3 separate regions of the Homo sapiens genome follow, and all the other regions are linked to region 2. The links are contacts of gene promoters, found by promoter capture Hi-C in human tissues and cell types (Jung and others, 2019). All regions are on one chromosome and are shown on one strand. Each heading gives the region's core, a stretch centred on a gene start or on the middle of the fragment in contact. The rest is flanking DNA. Distances are from core to core; before and after follow the strand shown.

What was found. Contacts are between HindIII fragments. The study calls those that stand out against the background at their distance.
Region 1: a contact is called between the fragment with the promoter of CYP2A7 here and a fragment that was not itself captured in region 2, in 3 of the 25 tissues and cell types used here (lymphoblastoid cells, small bowel and spleen).
Region 3: the fragment with the promoter of SERTAD1 here is called in contact with a fragment that was not itself captured in region 2 in 2 of the 25 tissues and cell types used here (IMR-90 fibroblasts and spleen).

The regions. Positions count from the first base shown.
Region 1 is chr19:40,879,471-40,884,063 of GRCh38, forward strand. It overlaps CYP2A7 (cytochrome P450 family 2 subfamily A member 7), which reads right to left and starts at 2,761. Exons shown (of 9, transcript NM_000764.3): 1 at 2,561-2,761; 2 at 2,119-2,281; 3 at 1,009-1,158; 4 at 614-774. The coding sequence starts at 2,740. The HindIII fragment of the contact is 10,061 bases long and covers 1-4,593 here.
Region 2 is chr19:40,658,752-40,663,366 of GRCh38, forward strand. No RefSeq gene overlaps it. Among named protein-coding and RNA genes, the nearest start is that of NUMBL, 30 kb to the right of the region's middle. RefSeq lists a silencer at 4,167-4,446. The HindIII fragment of the contact is 4,666 bases long and covers 1-4,290 here.
Region 3 is chr19:40,422,323-40,427,271 of GRCh38, forward strand. SERTAD1 (SERTA domain containing 1) reads right to left here and starts at 3,670. Exons shown (of 2, transcript NM_013376.4): 1 at 3,545-3,670; 2 at 1-1,224. The coding sequence starts at 1,224. The coding sequence ends at 514. RefSeq lists an enhancer at 2,193-2,995 and a silencer at 3,038-3,127. The HindIII fragment of the contact is 15,089 bases long and covers 1-4,949 here.

The DNA of each region.
Region 1 (4,593 bases), core at 1,511-4,010, 220 kb after region 2:
GCACAGGGAGCACCTCTGTAAGGTGTGTGATTGGAAAGGGTTGGGGAACACTTATTTGTGTGTCAGGGAACAATCTGTCTAGATATTTGTGTGTTTAAGGTGTTGGTTAGGGCAGCTGTCCATGTTTTCAGGCATTTAAGTGGGTGAAGTAGAGGGCGCTTGGCCAGATATTCCAGTGGGCTAATCTGGGACATTTGTGTAGATGTGAAATGATTATGATGGGCTGGATTTTGCAGCACCAGGTGTTCAGGCATGCAGGAGGCGGGTTGACGCAGTCATTTGTCCAGGTGTTAAAATATTCAGAAGAACTGGGTAGGGAGCATCTGTTAGAAATTACGGTAAGTTGGGGATGGGAACACGTGCCCAGGTGAGAGAGCTGAGCTGAGGGTATGTATCCTACCAGCAGGCTCTGTTTTGGGGAGCATCTGTTGAGCTATCCAGGTGTCCTTGGAGACAGGCTTCTGGTGCAACTGTCCAGTTGTCCAATATCGGGGGCTGATTTTGAGGGGACACTGTCTGGAGCGGGGTGGGAGTTTGGGGCACCTGTCTCCAGGTAGGGGAGCAGTTGGCAGGTTGTGGTAGGGGCGTCACGGGCCGGGCTGCAGCCAGTTACCTGCCCCGTGGAGGTTGACGTGAACTGGAAGATTCCTAGCATCATGCTCAGCAGTGACAGGAACTCTTTGTCCTCATAGTCAAAGCGGTCCCCAAAGACAATGGAGCTGATGACATTGGAGACTGTGCGGCTCAGGAAGAAGGTGGGATCGATATTGGCGCCTGCGGGTGTGGAGGGAGAAGGGGGTTGGGGAGAGAGTCAACTCAGAGGTCTGAGGAGAATCAGAATTCCAGGAGGCAGGGCCTTGTTGAGCCAAATTCCCAGCGCCAGACTCCAGGGCTGGAAGTGCGGGCGCCTTTCCCCACCTAGTCCCCATCCGCAGGCAGAACGCGCGCGGGTTCCTCGTCCTGGGTGTTTTCCTTCTCCTGCCCCCGCACTCGGGGAACCTTACTCACCGTGCGTGCTCCGGATGGCCTCGATGAGGAAGCCCGACTCCTCCTGGATGCGCTCCTCGATGCCTCGCTTGCCCACCCCGAAGTCCCTCAGGGTGGCGATGGCAAAGCGCAGGAGCTGCTTGGCGCGCTCCCCGTTGCTGAACGCCACGCCTGGGGAGGTCAAGGCGGGGGTGGAGAGAGGTCAGGGGGCGGCGGTGGCAGGAGCGGACCAGTTCCAAGGGGCTCCCCAAGGGTGGAGCAGAGGGGTAGTGGGGTGGGAGAGAGATGGATTCAGTGCCAGTGCCCAGGACAGGTGCAAACTCAGTCAGAGAAACACGAGGGAGAGAGAGAGAGAGAGAGAGAGAGAGAGAGAGAGAGAGAGAGAGAGAGAGAGAGAGAGAGAGACCGGGTAGAAAGAATAAGAGAATCAGAAGAGAAACAGAAAGGCCAGATAGAGATGCGCAGAGAAACAGAGGGATAAGGGGATACTCCATGGAGGAAGGGTAGGAAGTGGGGAGAGAAAGAGAGAGATGGAGGAAGAGGATGGAGGGAGGGGAAGTGAGATATGGGGAGATCTGGGAGGAGGAAATAAAAATGGTGAAACATTCTTAAGCTGAGCTGGAGAAGAGAGAAAAATACTGAGACAGAAACAGAGAGGGTCTGGAAGGAAGAGAGACTGTTACCAGGAGATGGAGGCTGGAGATGTGGAAGTAAGAATAGCATGAAATCCTAAGGGAGAGGAAAAAGTGAGAGAGGGAAGTGGAGAGAGGAGAAACATGGAGAAGCACAGAAGCTGAGAGCAACAAAAAGACAAATGAAGACAGAGGACCAGGGCTGGAAAACAGAAACCCAGGATGTCCTCAGAGATGGAGAGAGAGGGGAAAGAGGAGACTCCAGTGAGAGAGAATAAGGAGGTGGGGCAGAGAGAGGCAGGGAGGAATCACGACAGGGACGCTGGAGACAGGTGAGGGATACACATGGAGAGGCCACAGTGAAGGGAGATGGGGAGATAAGACCAGACCGGGGGTTCTGCCATAGCCTCCAGTGGGCAGGAGAGTCAGGGAGAAGGCTGGCAACACTGAGACCATCGTGTCCGCCTGGCCACCTTCCCCATCTTGGGCACCCCCTCACCATAGCCTTTGAAGACCCAGTCGAAGGTGGCTTGCTCGCCTCGCCCGCTGAACTCCTCAGCCTGGTCCACCAGAGCCTCCCTGACGGCATCATGTCCACACAGCACCACGACCCGCCGGGGCCCCAAGTGAATGGTGAACACGGGGCCATAGCACTCACTGAACTGATGGAGGCGAGTGGGAGTGGTTAGAGGGAGCAGCCCCCACTCTGAATGGGGCCCAGCACCGAGATGTCAAGTACTGGGATCCTTCACCCCCAGGTTCTCACAGTCAGGGAGCTGGACATCCCAAGATCCTGTCTTTCCTGGCTAGGACCCGGATGCTGAAACTCCAAAACTCCCTTTCCTAAGACTCTGGTCCACACTGGTCAATCCCCTGCCACAAAGCCCCAGCCAACTAGGCAGCCCCCACCCTGTGCCACCCATCTTCCTGCCTTGGGACACCTTCATGATGGAGTCACATATGTGCTCTGTGTTCAGCTGGAGGTAGTTTCCAATGAAGGGCAGTGGGGTGGGTCCCGGAGGCAGCTTCCCCCTGCTCTTCCTCTGCTGCCAGACAGACATCAAGACCATCACAGTCAGGCAGGCCAGCAAGGCCACCAGAAGCAGCCCTGAGGCCAGCATGGTGGTAGTGAGATGACAGATGGTGATGGGTGGGGTGGTTTGCCTTTATACTGCCTGAAAAAGAGGGATGGACTTTGGCTAATTACATAATCACCTTATTTCACCTCCCAACTACACGCCCCACCATGAATGCCACCTAGCTTGGGACACAGCCAGCAAGGGAGGATAAGGGGACCCCAGGGCAGCTGAACAGAGAGGGGGCCTCCAGACTAAATCTGTGGTACTTCAGGAGGGGTGCCGCAGGGCTGTGGATTTAGGAGGGGGCAACCGATAAACTGTAGAACTGAAGAGTTTGGAATATTTGCATAGGGGAGCACTTGGGCTTTGGATTTGGGGTCTGAGAGTGAGAATGCACCCCAAAGTTGTGGATTTGGGCATTCCAAGGGAGAGGAATCCAAAGGTCTGGGTTTTATTAGGGTGAGATGGAAGTGTGGCTGTGCATCTGGAGGTCTTCTGTTGCGGAGGATGCAGGGTTAAGGGTCTCAGGAGGGGGGACTCCAGGCATATGGACTTGAAAGTCTCGGGGCTAGGAAGACCCAGGGCTGTGGGTGTGGAGTTTCTGGGAGGAGGAGTGTGTAGCAAGCCAGCAGGTGCTCCCAGAAAGCCCAGCAGCCCAGCAATGGGCCCAGGGGCTGACTTGATTTTGCTTTTGCCCAGAGCTATCTCTTGATGCCCAGAATCCTCATTGGAACCTCAGAGTGAGGCCAGGATGGGTGCCATGGAACCTCCACTGCCCATCTCTGGTTGGGAAAGGGGTGGAAGACCAGGGCCATATTTCAGGGGAACTTTCCCCACACCTGGAGAAGAGTACCTGGAGTTAGCGGTTGGCAGAGGGATTGGCTAGGTCTGGAGAAATAGTAATAACAACCCCCAAATGGTGGAAAAATCTCAAGTGTCCCAAGGGTTGTCCGCTGGTTTCCAACCCAGATCCTCAGGGAAACCCACTAGATTGATTGTATCATCCCTATTAATATTATGATTGTTGTTTATGTTTCTCATTTTATATAAAGATCTACAGAGGACAGAAAACAGACAGTGGGCAGGGGACATGTGTGAGTGGCCCTGAACTCCCATCTCTCCTGCTCTGTGTACTTAGTTCCCCTTTCTGGATTTGGTTTTCCTGCCAGTGGAAAGGGAGTGTTTGGGAAGAGAAGATCACATTTGAGGGTGAGTTAAGTCTCCTTTAAGGGCGATTCCTGCTTTGTCAGGGGCTACTACTATTAGCAGGCAGAGGGAACAGTCGCAGAAGAGATTGGGGTAAACTCCAGTGTTAGGCACAGAGGCAGATCCTGGGGTGGGTGTGAGTGGAGAAGGGATGAGTAGCCCTCCTGTCCTTCCTTCAGGGAAATTCTTCCTTAGTAAACAGGACAGTTACCCTTTGGTGAGCATGGTCATATATGGGAAGATTAAGTCTAGGTGTGTATGATCTGGTTGAATCTTTGTAACAGTGAGGTTGGTTCATCGTGATCATCCTCATTTTGAAGATGAGCAGATCTAGACTCCATAAACCCTCTTGAGTGAGGTCACACAGGGAGTAAGTGAGGGAGCTGGGATGTGAACTTTCTCCTCGCCCCCCTTCATTGACTGGCCTAGATCACCCTGGGAGTCAAGTGCGGGCCAGCCTTAGCAGGAGGTGAGTGCTGAGACTGGCATCAGCAGTGGACACACTGATGACATTGGCGGGTTCTGATATCAGCATCAGGTATGGCCAGGGAGGGAAAGGCATCGTGTTGGCTTTGGGACTGCCCCCAGGTGTATGCGAGGATGGGAAACAAGTTGGCACTGAACTTGACACCAGGAGAATATTGAAGTCATGTTTGGTGCCAAGAGGGCTCTGTGTGTTGTCTCAGGTG
Region 2 (4,615 bases), core at 708-3,207:
TAGCTGGGACTACAGGCATGTACCACCACATCTGGCTAATTTTTTTTTTTTTAGTAGAGACGAGGTTTTGCCAAGTTGGCCGGGCTGGTCTCAAACTCCTAACTTCAGGTGATCTGCCCGCCTCGGCCTCCCAAAGTGCTAGCATTACAGTTGTGAGCCACTGTGCCAGGCCTTTTTTTTTTGTTCTTGTTGCCCAGGCTGGAGTGCAGTGGCATGATCTCGGCTCACTGCAACCTCCACCTCCTGGGTTCAAGTGATTCTCCTGCCTCAGCCTCCCGACTAGCTGGGATTACAGTCATGAGCCACCACACCTGGCTAATTTTTGTATTTTTTTTTTTAGTAGAGACAGGGTTTTGCCATGTTGGTCAGGCTGGTCTTGAACTCCCAACCTCAGGTGATCCACCCTCCTTGGCCTCCCAAAATGCTAAGATTACAGGCGTGAGCCACTCCGCCCAGCCCAGTCTTTTTACATTCTTAACTGAAGAAAAATGGGTGCCCTTCAAAGATTTTAAGATTAGGAAACAAAAAGTCAGAAGGAGCCAAATTGGGACTGCCAAGTGGATGCCTAATAATTTCCCATCAAAACTTGTAAAATTGCTCGTTTGATGAGGAGAATGAGCAGAAGCGTAGACATGCTGGAGAAGAACTCTCTGGTGAAGCTTCCCAGGCTTATTTCTACTAAAGCTTCGGCTAACTTTCTCAAAACACTCTCATAATAAGCAGATCTTATTATTCTTTGACCCTACAGAAAGTCAACCAGCAAAATGCCTTGAGCATCCCCAAAAACTGTTGCTATGACCTTTGCTCTTGACCAGTGTGCTTCTGCCTTGACTGGATCACTTCCCCGCTCTTGGCAATCATTCTCTGATTACGATTTGTCTTTAGGATTGCACCCGTGAAACCATGTATCATTTCCCGTTACAATCCTTCAAGGAAATGCATTAGGATCTCGATCTCACTTGTTTAGCATGTCCATGGAAAGCTCTGCTCTTCTCTGCAGCTGATCTGGGTGCGACCGTTCTGGCACCCATCGAGTGGAAAGTTTGTTTAGCTTTAATTTCAGTCAGAATTGTGTAAGCTGAGGCCGGGTGAGGTGGCTCAAGCCTGTAATCCCAGCAGTTCGGGAGAATGAGGCAGGAGGATCACTTGTGTCCAGGAGTTCAAGACCAGCCTGGGAAACCTAATGAGACCCCCATCTCTACAAAAAATACGAAAATTTAGTGTCAGGCCTCTGAGCCCAAGCTAAGCCATCATATCGCCTGTGACCTGCACGTATACATCCAGGTGGCCTGAAGCAACTGAAGAGCCACAAAAGAAGTGAAAATAGCCTTAACTGATGACATTCCACCATTGTGATTTGTTTCTGCCCCACCCTAATGATCAATGTACTTTGTAATCTCCCCCACCCTTAAGAAGTTTCTTTGTAATTCTTCCCATCCTTGAGAATGAACTTTGTGAGATCCGCCCCCTGCCCGCAAAACATTGCTCCAAACTCCACCGCCTATCCCAAAACCTATAAGAATTAATCATAATCCCACCACCCTTTGCTGACTCTCTTTTTGGACTCAGCCTGCCTGCACCCAGGTGAAATAAACAGCCTTGTTGCTCACACAAAGCCTGTTTGGTGGTCTCTTCACAGGGACGCGTGTGACACTTAGCTGAACGTGCTGGCACGCACCTGTAGTTCCAACTACTTCGGAGGCTGAGGTGGAAGGATCGCTTGAGCCCAGGAGGTTGAGGCTGCAGTGAGCCACAATCTCACCACTGTACTCAGCCTGGGCGACAGTATGAGAACCCTGTCTCAAAAAAAAAAAAAAAAAAAAAGAAAAAAGAATTGTGTAAGCTGTACCAATTGAGATGTCTATGGTGTTGGCTATTGTTTCTGCTGTTAACTGTAAGTCCTCTTTAATTAAGGCATAAACAAATTTAATTTTTTTCTGCAAAAATTGATGTGGATGGTATGCCACGGTGGGCTTCATCTTCAGCATGACCCAGGCTGGAGTGCAGTGGCGCAATCACGGCTCACTGCAACCTCTACCTCCCAGACTCAAGTGATCCTCCCACCTCAGCCTCCTGAGTAGCTGGAACTACAAGTGTGCACCACCACACCCAGCTAATTTATGTATTTTTTGTACGGATGGGGTTTCACCATGTTACCCAGGCTGGTCTCGAATTCCTGAGCTCCAATGATCCGCTGGCCTCAGCCTCCCAAAGTATTGGGATTACAGGCGTGAACCACCACGCCCGAACTTGTCCCTTCTTAAAACGAGTTATCCATTTGTAAATGGCTGATTTCTCTGGGGCACTGTCAAGTTTTTGGAAAACATCAATGATTTCATCATTCTTCCACCCAAGCTTCACCATCAATTTGATGCTTGTTCTTGCTTCAATTTTAGAATTCGTGTTGCTCTGATAGGGGCTCTTTTCAATCTGATGTTTTATTTTAGTGTCTCAAACTAGGTCCTGTTCAGACAAGTTATAACAAGTTAGTATGAATTTATTTTGGTGCAAAAAAAAAAAATTGAACTCCATGCATAGTTTTTTCATAATACACATTTTCCATGAATTTTTGGAAGACCCTTCTTTTTCTCTCTTTTTTTTTTTTTTTTTTTTTTCTGTAGAGATGGTCTTGTTCTGTCACCCAGGCTGGAGTGCAGTGGCACAATCATGGCTCACTGCAGCCTCGACCTCCTGGGCTCAAGCAATCCTCCCACCTCAGCTTCCTGTTACTGGGACTATAGGTGTGCACCACCACACCTTGATAATTAAAAAAAAAAATTTTTTTGTAGAGATCGGGGTGGGGGGGGGGGTCTCACTATATTTTCCAGGCTGGTCTTGAACTCCTGGCCTCAAGTGACCCTCCCCAATCAGCCTCCCAAAGTGCTGGGATTACAGGCACAAGCCACAGTGCCTGGCCAATAAATGTTTTTTGAATGAATGAAGAAATTAGTGCATGGACATATTTTCCCATCAGCTATTACAATAACCAGACTCTGAGTTCCCTGAAGGCAGGGCCTGTGAGTTTCATTGTGTACCCTCAGCCCTCAATAGCTGATAAAAATAAATATTCAGAAAATGCTTGTAAAATGAAGAAGAGAATATGTATGGGACAGAAAGTAGACCAGTGGTTGCCTGGGGCTGGGACAGGGAATAGGGAGCGACTGCAAATGGGCAGAAGGGATCTTTTCAGAGTGATGGAAATGTTCTTGAATTGGCTGTGATGGCTGCAGAACTGTAAAATCACCCAAAATCAGTAAATCACTTATAATAGGTGAATTTTATGACAGGTAGATTATACCTCAGTAAAGCTGTTAAAACAAAACCAGTGTTGAGGGAGGAAATAAATGTTACCTTGGTAATACTGAGGACTCAGTAGTTATCAAGACAGCTCTCTTCCCTGCCCTCATGAGGTTTTCTGTGCAGGGCGGGGACGCCGACCCATTATAGACAGTGACAGCCTAGAGCCATCACGGCGGGATGGTGGGGAGGGGACAGGCAGAGGGGTGGGAGGCCAGGATGGGGGAAGCCCGGGCAGAGAGGTTGGGCTGGAATGGGGGGCACAGGCAGAGGGGTCGGGGCGGGGACTGGTGAGGTGCAGGCAGAGGGCAAAGGGGTCGAGGTCCAGATGGGAGATGTACAGGCAGACGGATCCGGGCCAGGGCGGGGAGGTACAGGCCCAGTTGAGGAGCATAAGGAACCATAGGAGCCCAAAGGAGGCGCCCGACCAGTCAGGGAGGACTTCCCAGAGGGGTGAATGGCTGAGCCAGGGCCTGAAGTATAATGTTCATGAATGCGACAGCAATTTTTTTTTTTTTGAGACCGAGTCTCCCTCTATCACTGGAGTGCAGTGGCTCGATTTCGGCTCACTACAACCTCCACCTACCGGGTTCAAGCGATTCTCCTGCCTCAGCCTCCCGGGTAGCTGGGACTACAGGCGCCCGCCCCCACGTCCGGCTAATGTTTGCATTTTTAGTCGAGACGGGGTTTCGCCATTTTGGCCAGGCTGGTCTTGAACCCCTGACCTCAGGTAATGCACCTGCCTCGGCCTCCCAAAGTGCTGGGATTACAGGCGTGAGCCACCGCGCCCAGCACAATTTTAATTTTTCTTAAACACTTTTCCTGCCTTAGCAAAGTCTTGGAGGGGCGGCCGCCCAGGCGCCGCGAGCGCAAGACCACGAGGGGGCGCTGCTTCACCACGCTAGAGGAGCGCTCCCGGCAACCACGTGGCCCCACAGGTGCGGGAGGTCGGCGAGCGCGCCTGGAGGGTGGACGGGGTAGGTTACGGCCAGGCAGCCCGGGGTGGCGCGTGGCCCTGCGCAGGGCAGTGGAAGCAGCGGGCCCCAGGGAGCATGAGACGCCGCGCTCCGTGGGGCGGTCCCAGCGCTGTGCAGCGAGGGGCCAGGGCTGTCCCCGGTCCTGCGCGGCCGGCTCCCGGAGAAACTGTGGCCTCCTGGGGGTGGAGCTTTAAAAAACAAAACAAAACAAAACAAAATCACCCAACAGGAAGCGGGGTGGGGGCGCCCGGCTCTGTCACCCGTGGAATGCATCAAAATAGCCTGCGCGGCCGGGGGCGGTTCCGGGAAAGGGGGCGGCCGCGAGGGGCGGGGCTGCAACG
Region 3 (4,949 bases), core at 2,420-4,919, 230 kb before region 2:
TCTCACCTGTAAAATAGGGATGATAATACTACCGATCTTGTAGGGCTGTTATAGGATTAAATGAGTTAACACAGTGACGTGCTTAGAAACTGTGCCTCGTACACAGCCTACGCCCAATAAAATGTTTGATGTTTTTATCTCGCCTTCACATTTGCCCAGAGACAAAGCAGCACACGGATTTGAGATTTCCCAGGACTGGCTTTAATTTGAAAAATCTGATTGGGGTCTCTTCCCGTATCAGAGAAGGAACAGCCCAAGCTATGACCCCAGGGCCAGGGAATTCAGTCCCCACCAGACCCTGTCATTCCATCACTAGGGGGTAATTCCAGGCTCCCCCTGCCAGCCCTGAGACAGGAGGACGGATGTGAAGTTGCCCAGGACTAGATTCTGTCTCTCCAAAGTGGCCCAAGCCCTGTTCTCTGTACTAGGGAAGCCAGCTGTGTCTTTTCGAGGACAGTTGGTCCAGCCAGCAGGCTCAGTTCAGATACCAGACAACCATTCCAGCACGAGGGCTCAGCGCCCTGGCCCCGGCGGTCGCTCCAGTGCCTGTGTGCCCACCAGCACATCCATGAGGTAGTCCAATTCGGCCTCGTCCAGCTCCGGAGCTTCCTCCTTGCCCGGCCCATCCTCAGGGCCTGGTTTGAGGCCCTCAGAGGCTGGTGCCCAAAGTTCATTGTCATACATAGAGGTGTCAATATCCTCAAACAGGCCCTCAAGCCCATCGTCCAGTAGACAGCCAGTGGCTGGGCCCAGCAGGTCCAAGGCACCCAGGCTGGGCGCTGCTCCCCCGATGCTACGGCCTGGTGGCCCCTCGTCTGCCAAGGGTTGGGGAGCCTGACTCAGGCCCTCAATGTGGCTGAGGTCCTCCAGGAGGCTGGCCATGGAGGCTGAAAGGGCAGCGTCCGAGCTTGCCAGTAAGTTGTCAGCCACACTGGGGGCTGCAGGTGGGCTAGGCACAGGTGGCAGGGCAGCCGCGGGTGCCATGGACGCCTGGATGCGCCGCAGAGTGTTCACGACCAGCACCAGGTGCCGCAGGTCCGGCTCACTCTGCTGCAGGCTGTGGTGGAGCTTGAGCACTGAGAGGTCAAAGAGGGAGCTAGAGGCCACGGCCGGGGGTGCCTGTGCCACCGCTGTGTGGCCAGGATCTAGCCACCAGGAGTCGACTGCCAGAGGTTCCTTCTCCTCCTCCTCCTCCCGTTTCCGCTTCAGACCCTTGCTCAGCATCTGCAGAGGGCAGGGAGTTATGGAGTTATAGTCAGTTATAGAAAACAAATGTTAAGTTCAAAGCCTGGATCTGACAGTTGCTGCAGGTAGGATCTTGGGGAAGTCACTTAACCTCTCTGTGCCTAGCTTTTCTTAGGGAACTTTAAAGATATAGACAATTTTTATTTAACTGTATATGTATATTTATAGATTTTTTTTGAGATGGAGTCTCGCTCTGTTGCCCAGGCTGGAGTGTAATGCCGTGATCTCAGCTCATTGCAACCTCTGCCTCACAGGTTCAAATGATTCTCGTGCCTCAGCCTCCCCAAAAGCTAGGATTACAGGCACATGCCACCACACCCGGCTAATTTTTATATTTTTAGAAGAAGCATGGTTTCACCATGTTGGCCAGGCTGGTCTCGACCTCCTGGACCTCAAGTGATCCGCCCACCTCTGCCTCACAAAGTGCTGGGATTACATGCGTGAGCCACCGCGCCTGGCCTATAGACTTCTTAAATTTTAAATTTTATATTTAAGTATATTTATAGACTTTTTTATCTGAAAAAATAAAGATGGGGTCTCACTATATTGCCCAGGCTGGTCTCAAACTCCTGGCCTGAAGCGATCCTCCCCCCTCAGTCAATAAGTACTTTTTTTTTTCCCTTTTATTTTTTTGTAGAGACATGGTCTCACTATGTTGCCCAGGGTGGTCTCAAACTCCTTGCCTCAAGCCATCCTCCTTCCTCAGCCTCCCAAAGTACTGAGATTACAAGTGTGAGCTGCCTCACCCTGCCAATAAGTACACTTAATGATAACATTATTATTTCTTCAGTGAACCATGTGGAATGGCCAATATTCAACTTTTTCCCCTACAAAAGCAGCTGTTTCACATATTTTATTATAATAACATAATTATATCTAAATAAGTTATAATATTATAAATACTAAACTAGTTTCACGTAGTTTAATATTTATTGTCTACTATGACTATGTTTCAAACAGTAAATAAATAAGGAAACACAGGAAATGTACAGAGAATTACAGGAAGACACTAAAAGTTCCTAGAGACCTTTTAGATCATCAGAGAAGGCTCCTGTAAGGAGGTGACATTTGAATGGAGCCCTCAGGCCAGAGAAGTCAGCCATGGGAGACCCTGGGAAAAGCATTCCGGGAGGAGGGAACAACAAAAAAAGGCAGAGAAAAGCCCAGAGGCTGGATGGGCTTGAACTGGAAAGAGACCAGCATGGGTGGCACACAGAGAGTGACATGGTAGGAGACCAGATTGGGGAGCAGCTAGGGGAACGGGCACAAGCCAGGTCACAGAAAGCCACATATGCAGAAGTAGGGAGTTTGGATTTTATCCTGAGTGTGGTGGGCAGTCATTAAAGGAATTTGAGCAGGGAGGGAATGGTGCTGTGAGCTGATTAGGTTTCCGGAAGATCCCCCCCATGGCTGCTTCGAGGAAGACTGTGGGGGGCAAAAAGAGGGGGGATCTGAGACCCACTGGTAGGCTGTACTCGTTTGGGACGGACGATGGTGATGGCCTGGAGTAGGAGCTGGTAGTGGCATGGAAGGAAGTCGGTCGAGTCAGGACTTATTTGGGAGGCAGAATAGACAGGGCTTGTCGGGAAATCGTGATCGGCACCGGGTTCAGTCACTGAGATAAGTTTGAGGGTCCACTGTTCTTGGAGTGGCGGGGGTAGGGCTGGAGTTTTGGACTCCTGGCGCTACCTACTTTTTTGGGCCAGGAAGACTGTAGAGTCCAGTTTCGGAACCCTGCCTAGCAAGATTTTAAGAATGGCCCACCACACTACTCAAAACAGGGTCTTCGTCCCCTTCCCCGCAGTCCGGGGAGTCCGGAACCGCAGGAATTCCGCCCCCACCCCCGACTCCGCCCCCGGGTCCCGGCGCCCCCTAGCGGTGCCCAGGCCGGCTTTCCCCCGGGGATTCTGGCCCCTCTGACCCCAGGACCCCTTCTACTGCCCCGATTCCCGGCTGTGATTCCTGCCGGCCTCCCGGCGCCGTGCGAGCCGGGACCCCTGGCGGGCTGTTCTCTGCGCCCGGCCTCCGCTCGCTTCCGGCAGTGGAGGCGGCTCCTCCCGAAGCGGCGGCGGCGGGGGCGGGTGAGTCACGCAGCCGGAGCCAAGAAGCCGGCGCCTCCGCCCCCTTCTCGGACTGCGGCGTGATTCACCCGGCCCGGCCGGGGCAGACAGCACGTAGAGGTCCGTGCGTCTCGATCCCGGGCAGCCCCGGCGGGCACCTGTCGGACCCAGGGATCGAACTCTGTGAAGGACCCGGCCGCTGGTAGCCCTTCTGTTCCCAGGCCCCTTCATTTACATACCTTGCTCACTAGCGGCCAATCAGAACGAAGAGGTAGCCACCCACAACCAATCAGGAAACGGCGGCGGCAGCATCGCTTGTTGGCTGTCCTCCGGAAACCCGCGCCTGGGTCGCGAGACGCAGTTCTGACTCCGGCTCACGACTCCAGACTCCTAACTACCCTTAGCGACCGCCCACTCTCGTGGCTGCCCCGCCCTCCGCCCCAGGGATTGGCCCTGCATGGTGATGGGCGGAGCTTGTAGGGGGCGGATTCTGAAGGAGGGGCTTCAGGGCGCATGCCCGGGCAGCTGCGCGAGTGAGGGGTGGAAAGAGGTGGCTTTTTACTCCGGGGAACGGTGGCGAGTGGGGGCTTTTGCCTCTCAAAATACGAGCCCCTCACAACTACCCATGCACCTGCCAAACCCGGCAATTAAGCTTCTTACACATCCAGCCCCGACAGGGGTCTACACTACAGATAATGCCCGGGTTCAAATTCCGACTCCGGATTCCCCACTCACTGGATGCGTGACCTTGGAAAAATGATCAACCTCTTCAAGCTACACAAAGTTAAATGGGGATCGTCTTGCCTACCTCTTGACAGGATACTTTAAGTAGGATCGTATCTATAAGAACACAATACCACACTCAAGCAATGCTGGACAGTTGGACTTAATTGTGGTTAAAGGCGGGAGTGAGGTGGGAGTGCGATACCAACGGAATCACATCCCGGGCTCCATTCCCTAAGCAGCTGTGTGACCTGCGGCAAGTGTTTTAATCCCTTCTGGTCTGTTTCTCCTTTAAAATGAGAGAAAATAGCGCCTAGTTTACAGGATTGTTTTTAAGGATTAAATTAATTCATGAAAAATCTTCAGAGTGGGGTGCAACATGTTTTGTGTTTTTTTTTTTTTTTTCATTTTATTTATTTATTTATTTATTTATTTGAGACAGATTCTCACTCCGTCGCCCAGGCTGGAGTGCAGGGGCACGATCTCGGTTCACTGTAACCTCCGCCTCCCAGGTTCAAGCAATTATCCTGCCTCAGCCTCCCGAGTAGCTGGGACTACAGGCGTGCGCCACCACGCCCGGTTAATTTTTGTATTTTTAGTAGAGATGGGGTTTCACCATGTTAGCCAGGCAGGTCTCAAACTCCTCACCTCAGGTGATCCGCCCTCCTCGGCCCCTGAGTGTTGGGATTACAGGCGTGAGCTACCGCGCCCAGCTGCTTATTATTTTTTTCTTTACTTTTTATTTTATTTTATTTTGCTTTTGAGACAGGGTCTCGCTCTGTCACCCAGGCTGAAGTGCAGGGGTGCCATCTCGGCTCACTGCAGCCTCCCAGGTTCAAGCCATCCTCCTGCCTCAGACCCCCAAGCAGCTGGGACTACAGGCGCACACCACCATGCCTGGTTAGCAACGTTGTTTCTTTG